Regions from separate parts of the Homo sapiens genome. Here region 1 is linked to region 2. The links are contacts of gene promoters, found by promoter capture Hi-C in blood cells and fetal thymus (Javierre and others, 2016). All regions are on one chromosome and are shown on one strand. Each heading gives the region's core, a stretch centred on a gene start or on the middle of the fragment in contact. The rest is flanking DNA. Distances are from core to core; before and after follow the strand shown. Region 1 holds the start of PAF1 (PAF1 component of Paf1/RNA polymerase II complex). Region 2 holds the start of IGFLR1 (IGF like family receptor 1).

Evidence for each region. Contacts are between HindIII fragments. The CHiCAGO score rates a contact against its expected background, and 5 or more counts as called.
Region 1: the fragment with the promoter of PAF1 here is called in contact with the fragment with the promoter of IGFLR1 in region 2 in 1 of 17 cell types (fetal thymus); the score reaches 6.5 in fetal thymus.

Annotation. Positions count from the first base shown.
Region 1 is chr19:39,389,110-39,394,576 of GRCh38, reverse strand. PAF1 (PAF1 component of Paf1/RNA polymerase II complex) reads left to right here and starts at 3,471. Exons shown (of 14, transcript NM_019088.4): 1 at 3,471-3,759; 2 at 4,288-4,317; 3 at 4,416-4,508; 4 at 4,816-4,937; 5 at 5,031-5,097; 6 at 5,194-5,295; 7 at 5,379-5,467. The coding sequence starts at 3,713. MED29 (mediator complex subunit 29) reads right to left here and starts at 3,199. Exons shown (of 4, transcript NM_017592.4): 1 at 2,939-3,199; 2 at 2,055-2,113; 3 at 940-1,024. The coding sequence starts at 3,154. It also overlaps a transcript of SAMD4B not described here. RefSeq lists an enhancer at 2,855-3,144 and a silencer at 4,682-4,813. The HindIII fragment of the contact is 958 bases long and covers 3,135-4,092 here.
Region 2 is chr19:35,739,798-35,745,251 of GRCh38, reverse strand. It overlaps IGFLR1 (IGF like family receptor 1), which reads left to right and starts at 2,800. Exons shown (of 5, transcript NM_024660.4): 1 at 2,800-2,856; 2 at 4,029-4,228; 3 at 4,688-4,872; 4 at 5,164-5,454. The coding sequence starts at 4,072. U2AF1L4 (U2 small nuclear RNA auxiliary factor 1 like 4) reads left to right here. Exons shown (of 6, transcript NM_001040425.3): 2 at 40-127; 3 at 831-929; 4 at 1,107-1,240; 5 at 1,348-1,443; 6 at 2,449-2,725. The coding sequence ends at 2,533. RefSeq lists silencers at 1,122-1,282, 4,585-4,714 and enhancers at 2,618-3,047, 4,395-4,504, 4,852-5,454. The HindIII fragment of the contact is 10,043 bases long and covers 1-5,454 here.

The sequences.
Region 1 (5,467 bases), core at 2,222-4,721, 3.6 Mb before region 2:
AAAAAAAAAAAAAAAAAAAAGGCCGGGTGCAGTGGCTCATGCTTGTAATCCTAGCACTTTAGGAGACTGAGGCGGGTGGATCACTTGAGGCCAGGAGTTCAAGACCAGCCTGGCCAAAATGGTGAAACCCCATCTCTACTAAAAATACAAAAATTAGCCAGGCGTGGTATGCCTATAGTCCCAGTTACTTGGGAGGCTGAGGCACCAGAATCGCTTGAAACTGGGAGGAGGAGATTGCAGTGAGCCTAGATCGTGCCACTGCACTCCAGCCTGGGTGATGGTGAGACTGTCCTCCCCCACACCCCCCCACCAAAAAAACCAGTCCAAAATAATGATGATACTACAGTACACATTTGCCATATGCCTGGTATCATGTTAAGCAGTTTACACGCATAATCTAAGTTTTCCTGGAAACTCCGTTTTCCTAAGGAGGAACCCAGAGGTCAGAGGTAGAGATTGATGGTGCATCTGACTCCAGAGGCTGTATTCTTAGTCACTTACCCTCCTCTCAACTCCTGCCCCTCTTCTCTTCTTTGTTTCAGACTTGGTCAGATGTGCTGTCTAGCAGTAGCCTTCCCTAAGCCACTCTCTCCCTATCCCCACCCTGGGCTTCCACACTGAGATTTCCCCATCCCAGCCCTGATCCCTCTGCCTGTGCCTCCTCAATCATAACCCTAACCACTCTGGCCTAGGCTTCTCCCATCACAGCACTGACCACTCTGAGCTGTCACTGTTTAGGGGTGTGCTTATTATTCCACTCAACTGAAAGCTCTGCAAGGGCAAGGATCAGAGCAACCCTGTGTCCTCAGTGTTGGTGGAAGCACAGGTCTGGCCCACAGGAGGTCCCCAGTTGAGTGTGAGTTGACTGACTGACTGTTTCTGAAGACCCCAGAGACTGGGACACGGCTGTTGTTACCCCGTGTCCAGAAGGCTTCTTACCAGGCACAGCTCCAGCTGGTCACAGAGTGCATAGAACTCTTCCAGGCACTTGTCAAAGCGCTGTATGGGTCCATCACTGCTCTTTCTACAGACAAGGAAAAAAGGATGTCTGAAGAATTGATTTCTAATCTTTGGGACACCAGTATCTACCCAACCAAGTGTCCATCAGGAAACCAGGTACAGGTCCAGGAGATCTGAAGTAGTGGTTGAAAACCGGAGGGGTTCAAAAAAAAAGAAAAGGAGGCTGGGCACGGTGGCTCACGCCTGTAATCCCAGCACTTTGGGAGTCCGAGGCGAGCAGATCACCTGAGGTCAGGAGTTCAAGACCAGCCTGGACAACATGGTGAAACCCCATCTCTACTAAAAATACAAAAATTAGCCAGATGTGCTGGCACGCGCCTGTAGTCCCAGCTACTTGGGAGGCCGAGGCAGGAGAATCATTTGAACCCGGGAGGCAGAGGTTGCAGTGAGCTGAGACTACACCACTGCACTCCAGCCTGGGCGACAGAGCAAGACTCTGTCTCAAAAAAAAAAAAAAAAAAAAAAAAAAAAAAAAGAAAAGAAAGAAAGAAAGAAAGAAAAGGAAAAGGCTGGGCATGATGGTTCATGCCTGTCATCCCAGCACTTTGGGAGGCCAAGGTGGAAGGACTGTTTGAACCCAGGAGTTTGAGACCAGCCTGGACAACGTGGCAAGACCCTGTCTCTACAAAACAACAACAAAAATAAAATAAAATAGGAGAAGTGATTCGTGAGGCTGAGGGGATGGCTAGAGGCCAGGAGTTTGAGACCAGCCTGGGAAACATAGCAAGACTCCGTCTCTATAAAAAAATCTTACAAATTAGCCAGGCATCTGTAGTCTGTAGCCATGTCTGTAGTCCTGGCTACTTGGGAGGCTGAGGCAAGAGGATCTCCTAACTCAGGTGTTCAAGGCTGCAATGAGCCAAGATCGTGCCACTGTAGTCCAGCCTGGGTGACAGAGGGAGACCCTGTCTCAAAAAAAAAAAAAAAAAAAAGTAAATATAGAAGGTGAGGTGGGCGGGGAGCAGGAGAAGGAAAGATGAATTTCAAAGACTGGGAAGGCAATAGAATATCCTGGTAAAGGGGGCTGCACTCACTGTCCATTGTCGATGTTAGTGTTCTGAATCAAGTTTTGGGCCGCAACCTTCATCAAGGTCTAGTCAAAACAAAAACAAAACACGTGGGAAATGGAAAAACAAAAGGGAATACCTCTGGCAGATCTACACTCTTTCTTGAGATCACTCAGTCTCAGGTTTTCTTTTCAACTGGCACCTTCCCTCCTGACTTTCCAAAGTAATATTCGTTTCCATTCCTATAGCTGTCACCACTCCATCCTCCCAGAGGCCCGCTCTCACCTGAGCTTCTCGCCAATAACCTAAGGGTCCTCCCTCACCTATCAATCAAGGGCAGAATCTCCGTATAAGCCAGTACTCTCCTCAGGCTTTAACGACCAGAGCCCAGTTTCTCCTTTAAACAACCCCTCACTCAAGCTCCGGCCAGTCCCAGCCTCAGCATCAGCGCTGATCCCATCTCTGCCGAGCTTCGCTTAGGTCTCGCAGAAAACAACAGTTTTATTTATTTATTTATTTATTTTTTTGACGGAGTCTCGCTCTGTTGCCCAGGCTGGAGTGCAATGGCACGATGTCGGCTCACTGCAACCTCCGCCTCCTGGGTTCAAGCGATTCTCCTGCCTCAGCTTCCCGAGTAGCTGTAATTACAGGCGCGCGCCACCATGCCCGGCTAATTTTTGTATTTTTAGTAGAGACGAGGTTTCACCAGGCTGGTCTTGAACTCCTGACCTCAAGTGATCCGCCCGCCTCGGCCTCCCAAAGTGCTGGGAACACAGGCGTGCACCAGCCAGGCCAAAACAGCAGGTTCTATTCCTCTTTCTGCTTAGCGCTCTCTCCGACTAACCTGGCCCTCGGCCTGCCCCTCTAGACTACCAAATCCAGTTTGCTTCTCGCTGCTTAAGGCCAATCACCTGTAGACTCTCCTTCAGCTGCGGGATGAGCATCTTATAACGCTGCACAGGATCGAAGTCCTGTTGCTGTTGCTGCAGGAGGCCGCTCTGGGCAGGGCCCACCAGTTGTGCTGGCGGTTGCGGCTGCTGCTGGGGACCCGGGCCGCCAGCCGAACTAGGACCCGATACACCAGCAGCTGAGGAAGCCGCTGAAGCTTGCTGCTGGGATGCAGCCATCTTCCTCGCGTAGACCGCCGGAAGTGCGTTACGACTGCGTCTCTCCCCGTTGCTTTTCAGCATCCCTATTTCTAGTCCCCGTTTGCTAGTTAGTCCCGCCCCCTAGGCAATTAAGCCAATGGAGGGGAAGGAGGTGCCCCAACGTTACGTCACTCTCAAATCTGCGTCCAGACTGAGATATCTCTCCACCAATCACAGAAGCACCTCTCTCCCTCGCTCCGCCCTTCACCCAGACGCTCGCCAATCCGTGTGTGGTTCCGAGCCGGACTTCATTTCCCCGAAGGCGTCGCGGCCTGAGGAGACCCGTTGGGTCCTCAGCGTCTTGGCGGCAGTTGGTGGAACCGGAGCTTCGAGTCCGTCCCCGGTGCTGCCTGCGCGTTCACCTGAGTCTCGCTGGAGCTCTTCTCGCCCGCCCACCTCATCTCAACCCACTTTCCGCGGGGAGCGGCGCCAAGCTGGGCCTTCCTCGGATCAGGCGTCCCCTGAAGTCGGCACGCCCCTCTGCGTCCCCCTTCGGTCCCGCTAGGACCCCGTCCGGGCTGCCGTCGCCTCGTCGCTATGGCGCCCACCATCCAGACCCAGGCCCAGCGGGAGGATGGCCACAGGTAGGCGCCACGCTTTTCTGTTGCAGCAAGGCGGGGGATCGGGAGAGGGTTTCTGCTGAACAACGTCACCAGCCCCCAGGTCTGCCCGTGACGTCATGAAGCGCTCACCTTTGACGAAGGGGGCGGGTTCCTTCTGAGATTCAGGTGTTCCCCTCCTCCCCGCCGTGCAGTTCAGGGATTAGGCTTTTGGAGACTCCCTCCAGAAGGGATCCCTCCAGTCAACCGTTTGGAGACCCCTCTTCCGAAGACGATTGAGTACATGGTTCTTTATTAAAGCACTTGAAGCCATCTCCTGCAAAAGGGATTGAGCACTTGGCCTTGTTCATTAAAGCTTTTGGGGGCATTTCTTCCTAAATAAATTGAACATTTGTCTCCTTCCATTAAAGCATTTGGACACTCCCCACACCACCACCCAAAGAAACCAGCATTTGTCACCCCTCCTACCTTTTGAAAGGTTGGGGAAGCCTTTTTCATTCTCCTGTCAATCCCGTCCTCTCCACCTATCACTGTTTCTTTCTTCTCCACTAGGCCCAATTCCCACCGGACTCTGCCTGAGAGGTGAGCCCCACTGTGCTTTCCCAGGAGCGGTGGGGCAGTGGGGCTGGGAGCAGAGGTGGGGCAGCGGGGGCCCACTTTTGAGCCACTAATGTTCCTAGGTCTGGAGTGGTCTGCCGAGTCAAGTACTGCAATAGCCTCCCTGATATCCCCTTCGACCCCAAGTTCATCACCTACCCCTTCGACCAGAACAGGTGAGACTAAGGAATGGGAAAACTACTCAGGTATGAGTTCCTTGAAGGCAGGGACTGCTTGTCTCGTTGGCTGCTGTCTGCTCAGGGCCTAGCACAGTACCTACCCTAGCACATAGTAGTAGCTGCTCAATTGTTAATGGAGCAAGCAGTGTCCAAGTCCCTTCCCACTGGGGAGCCAGCTTTCAGACTCTGCCATGGGGGACACTTCATTCTGAGTTCCTCCCCAGAGAAGCTCCGCCTCTGGGAAGCAGGGCTGTGAGGGGTGAAGCTGGAATCCAAACACCACAATAGGTGTTTCCCCACCCAGGTTCGTCCAGTACAAAGCCACTTCCTTGGAGAAACAGCACAAACATGACCTCCTGACTGAGCCAGACCTGGGGGTCACCATCGATCTCATCAATCCTGACACCTACCGCATCGACCCCAATGGTGTGTGGGGAGACAGGGAGGGTCTGCTCTAGGTCAGCAAAGGCTCAGGCCTGGGCCTCCCTCATGGTCCTCCTGCCCCCCGCTCTCCTCTAGTTCTTCTAGATCCAGCTGATGAGAAACTTTTGGAAGAGGAGATTCAGGCCCCCACCAGCTCCAAGAGGTGAGTGGGTAGCAAATGGGTACTGGAGACTGGCTCAGGTGGGCCCTACAAGCAGGAGGGCAGTGGGGTCCTGAGATACCTGATTTCCCACCCCAGATCCCAGCAGCACGCGAAGGTGGTGCCATGGATGCGAAAGACAGAGTACATCTCCACTGAGTTCAACCGTTATGGCATCTCCAATGAGAAGCCTGAGGTCAAGTAAGTTACTAACAGGAAGAGAGGGAAGGTGGAGATATTAGGTGTGTCCAGTGGCCCCTAAGGACCTTTTTCTTCATTCCTAGGATTGGGGTTTCTGTGAAGCAGCAGTTTACCGAGGAAGAAATATACAAAGACAGGGATAGCCAGATCACAGCCATTGAGAAGACTTTTG
Region 2 (5,454 bases), core at 1,551-4,050:
CCGGCCCTCGGTTCACCTTTGTCTTTGCACCTTTTCCAGGGTTAACTGCTCTTTTTACTTTAAGATCGGGGTCTGCCGGCACGGGGACCGGTGCTCCCGGCTTCACAACAAGCCGACATTCAGCCAGGTGAGACCCGGCACGGAGCCTCGGGGGTTAACGGCTCCCTGGCCCTTCCCCTTCTGGGGCCGTCGTCACCATGTCCCGCCTATTCCGGGTTCCTGAGTCCCTCCCCACCGCCCGGCTTTTTTTCTCATTGGACCTTTCTGCAGGCTCCTCCCACCGGTCTTCGTGCCGTTTTCCCGGGAACTTGGTCGCGCCCCCATGCGTACAGGCTACACACGGCGGCTGTTCATCTTTGCCAGTCCCTTCCATCCCGCTGTTCATCCTTGCCAGTCCCCTCCATCCCTTTTCTGGTTTCTTAGGGGCAAAGGATCGCCGATGCACTCATGATGCTTAGGCTGGGGTGTAAGGTTCCACCCCCAACCTTCATGCCTCACTCTCTGTTCATGCAGCCCTGCCCTCTGAGCTCAGGCCCCGCCCCTTTTAAATTCTGTGCAGACCATAGTGCTGCTCAACCTGTACCGGAATCCACAGAACACAGCCCAAACTGCAGACGGATCACACTGTGAGTAAGGGACCAGGCCTGGGGGCAAGGTGAACAGCCCCCAGTAGGCTACACTCTGATTCCACCCTGCCCGCCCCCACCCCAGGTCATGTGAGTGACGTGGAGGTGCAGGAGCACTATGATAGCTTCTTCGAGGTGAGGGTTGGTAGGGGCAGATGGGGTTTCTTGTGGGAGCTCAGCTGAGTTCCTCCCCGTCTTCCACAGGAGGTGTTCACAGAACTGCAGGAGAAGTATGGGGAGATTGAAGAGATGAATGTGTGCGACAACCTTGGGGACCACCTCGTGGGCAACGTCTATGTCAAGGTGCTTGCTGCCCCCCACTTAGGGCCCAGAAGTGGAGGCGTTTCAATGCCTGATGGTGGCCACTGTAGGCTCTCAGCTTGAATTTCATCACTAAATCCAGTCCAGCCCCAGAGCGGGTAGTGAGTCCCCTGAAGATCTCTGAGTTCTCCTGCTGACCCTGACTGACATTTCCTGCAGTTCCGGAGGGAGGAGGATGGAGAGCGGGCCGTGGCTGAACTCAGTAACCGCTGGTTCAACGGGCAGGCTGTGCACGGTGAGCTGTCTCCTGTCACTGACTTCCGGGAGTCATGCTGTCGCCAGTATGAGATGGGGTATGGTAGTTCAAGGGTGGGATGGGCACTTGGAATCCCAGACTTTGAATGCGTGGTAGGGGCTGTCAGTGACAATGGCTTCCTCCATCTCTCTACCCTCTATGCAGGGAATGTACCCGAGGTGGCTTCTGCAACTTCATGCATCTGCGGCCCATTTCCCAGAACCTCCAGAGGCAGCTCTATGGGCGGGGACCCAGGCGCAGGTACCTCAGGACCAGCCTGCTATGTCTCCTCATGTCCTAAGGCCCCTATATCCTCAGATGAGCCTAACCCTAAGCCCCAGTAACCACGTTCCCAAGAATCTTTTTTTTTTTTTTTTTTTTTTGAGATGGAGCCTCACTCTGTTGCCCAGGCTGGAGTGCATTGGCACCATCTTGGTTCATGGCAACTTCCGCCTCCCGGGTTCAAGCAATTCTCTGCCTCAGCCTCCCAAATAGCTGGGATTACAGGCACCTGCCACCATGCCCGGCTAATTTTTGTGTTTTTAGTAGAGATGGGGTTTCACCATCTTGGCCAGGCTGGTCTGAACTCCTAACCTCGTGATCCACCTGCCTCACCCTCCCAAAGTGCTGGGATTACAGGCGTGAGCCACCACTCCCGGCTGACTGTTTTTTTTTTTTTTTTTTTTTTTTTTTTTTGAGACGGAGTTTTGCTCTTCTTCCGCAGGCTGGAGTGCAAAGGCGCAGTCTTGGCTCAGTGCAACCTCTGCCTCCCAGGTTCAAGCAATTCTCCTTTCTCAGCCTCCCAAGTAGCTGGGATTATAGGCACCTGCCACCATGCCTGGCTAATTTTTGTATTTTTAGTAGAGATGGGGTTTCACCACGTTGGCCAGCCTGGTCTCGAACTCCGGACCTCAGGTAATCCACCCATCTCGGCCTCCCAAAGTGTGGGGATTACAGGCGTGAACCACTGCGCCCGGTCATTCCCAAGACTCTTATACCCTAAGAGTAGTTCTGAGCTCCATCTGGAGACCAGTACCTAAGTCCCAATCCCCAAACCAGCCTGAACCCCTAATCCACGACCAGCCTGGATTGCCACCCCTGATACTGGCCACTGAGTTCCCCTGATACTGGCCACTGAGGTCGTGTCTTAGAACTCTAGTTATTTCAGCACCCTCCTGCCTCATCCCAGAGCAGAGAGGCAGGCCTGCAGGATCTCTGCACCACTCCTCAGGGTTCTAACAGAACTCTCAACGCTCCTATTCCCAGGTCACCCCCGAGGTTCCATACTGGCCACCATCCCCGAGAGAGGAACCATCGGTGTTCCCCTGATCACTGGCATGGCCGCTTCTGAGGCCCTGGCCCCCTTACCCTTCACCCCCAACAGGGACAGATGTTCCTGGCAGGACCTCTCCTCAAAGCCCCCTTCACTCTCCTGCCCCATCCTTCCCAGGCTCCCGGGCTCCATAATGTAATCTGTTCAGCATGGAGACCTTCTTCTACCGCCCCTGTCTTAATAAAGCTGCGTGTTTCACTTCGGCATCAACTTGCTTTTGCTGTGGTTTGGCATTTCCCTCCACCCACACATGTGACGAAAAGGGGAAACAAGACTGGGTCCTGGCCACAACTTCAGCTGAGGAACTTGGCACGGCCAGCTTGGGACCCAGGACCCTAACGGTACTGGTAGGGTGGGGACACCTTTGTGCTGAAAACCTTAGCACCTCCATCTGAGGCTTATTCAAGGGGGAGAGACCTGGTTGTGGCAGGTGGGAGGAGCCCTAGCCCCAAGGAGATTAGGATTCAAAGGTGAGGTGAGGTGCTGGGAGGTGGTCTCCAGCCAGTATGGGGCTGACTCCTCCGTGCCTGCCGAATTGTGATGGGAGTTAGTAATGCCTTACACTTAAACACTGAGTTTACTGTATGTGAGGTGCTGTTTTCAGCACTTTAGTTTGTTTTTGTTTTTTTTAAGGAGTTTCATTCCTGTTGCCCAGGCTGGAGTGCAATGGCACGATCTCAGCTCACTGCAGCCTCCACTTCCCAGGTTCAAGCAATTCTGCCTCAGCCTCCCAAGTAGCTGGGATTTACAGGCATGCGCTACCACGCCCGGCTAATTTTGTATTTTTAATAGAGACAGGGTTTCACCATGTAGGCCAGGCTGGTTTTGAACTACTGACCTCAGGTGATCCACCCACCTGGGCCTCCCAAAGTGTTGGGATTACAGGCATGAGCCACTGCGCCCGGCGGCCAGTTTTTTTTGTTTTTAGAGATGAGGTCTTGCTGTGTTGCCCAGGCTGGTCTGTAATTCATGGCTCAAGCAATCCTCCTACCTTGGCCTCCCTAGTAGCAGGGACTACAGACGTGAGCCACTGCACTTGGCAAAGTGCTTTGCTGTTTTTTTTTTTTTTTTTTTTTTTTGTAAAGATGGGGTTTCATTTTGTTGTCCAGGCTGATCTCTCGAACTCCTGGGCTCAAGTGATCCTCCTGTCTTGGCCTCCCAAAGTGTTGGGATTACAGGCATGAGCCACCACACCCAGCCCCTGCTTTACTTCTAATGACGGTTCTAATTCTCCACAATAACCCTATGAGACAGGTGCTATCATTGTCTTATTTTAGGGATGGAAAAGGGAGGGTGGGTGGGTGAGGACACGGCAGAGGTGGGATATGCATTCTTGCAATCTAGATCCGCAGCCCTGTTAGTCCCCTAGTGGCCTTGTGGGCTTCTCTGATAACCGGCTCAGTTGGGGGATGAGGGCTCGGGGGTAGATTCCCGGCTTCCGAAGAGGCGTGAGAATTCTGTTCCCCCACATCACCGCGTCCTTTCTTCTGCCCGATTTCCCCGGAAAGTGTAGCAGAGGCGCTGTGTTTGGAAGTCCCGCTATCACGGCCCCCCAGATGGGGCCTGGACGATGCCTCCTGACGGCCTTGTTGCTTCTGGCCCTGGCGCCACCGCCGGAAGCCTCCCAGTACTGCGGCCGCCTTGAATACTGGAACCCAGACAACAAGTGCTGCAGCAGCTGCCTGCAACGCTTCGGGCCGCCCCCCTGCCCGGGTGAGAATCCGAGACCGAGCCTTGCTTGGGCGGAGCTTGCAGGTGATAGGGAGCGGGGAAGGGGCGAGGTCTGTGGGCTACGGGCCAGAGAGGCTTGCTTAGGGGTCTAAGCGGTGGGCCTTATGCAGATCAGACAGGGATGGCAGGCAGAGCCTGTGCAGATAGTGCGGGCTACCGTAGGGCAACAGCGAATGGATATGGCTGGAGAGGCGGGATAGGGGCCGCGTGGAAAGGGTGGGCTTTATGTAGAGAAGCCGGGAGTGGGCGGAGCTTCGTGCGGAGCAGGCTGGAGGGGGGTGAAAAGGCGAGCCCGGAGAAAAGTGACAAGACCGGGGCGCACGCTAATAGGCTGGAAGCGTCCTGGAGGGGCGGGGCACGCTGGGATAGGGCGAAGGGAGAGGGCGTTGCCCGCGCAGGGGCGGGCTAGGCGGCCGCACTGGAGCGCAGCTTTCCCGCTAGACTATGAGTTCCGGGAAAACTGCGGACTCAATGACCACGGCGATTTCGTAACGCCCCCGTTCCGAAAGTGTTCTTCTGGGCAGTGCAACCCCGACGGCGCGGAGCTATGTAGCCCCTGCGGCGGCGGAGCCGTGACCCCTACTCCCGCCGCGGGCGGGGGCAGAACCCCGTGGCGCTGCAGAGAGGTGCAGATGGGACTCCCGGCAGGGCAAGGGCGTGCTGGAGGTGGGGGGCCTAGATGTAGGGAGCCGGCGTAGCCCCACGTAAGGGGTGGGGCCGTGGTTTCAGGAGGTGGCTGGCCTGCAGGGGTCGGGAGGTCCTAGGTTAAGGTAGTTGGGCCTTGCGGGGCCCAACTACCTTATCAGATACCGTATCAGATGGGATGTGGCCCCATTAAAGGATATAAAGTTGGGAGGTTTGGGAGCGGGCAGGAGTGGAGTGTGGCCTCCAGCTTTACTCCAACCCCTTATCCCCAGAGGCCGGTCCCTGCCAAGGGGCACTGCCCCCTCACACCTGGAAACCCAGGCGCCCCTAGCTCCCAGGAGCGCAGCTCACCAGCAAGTTCCATTGCCTGGAGGACCCCTGAGCCTGTCCCTCAGCAGGCCTGGCCGAATTTCCTTCCGCTCGTGGTGCTGGTCCTGCTCCTGACCTTGGCGGTGATAGCGATCCTCCTGTTTATTCTGCTCTGGCATCTCTGCTGGCCCAAGGAGAAAGCCGACCCCTATCCCTATCCTGGCTTGGTCTGCGGAGTCCCCAACACCCACACC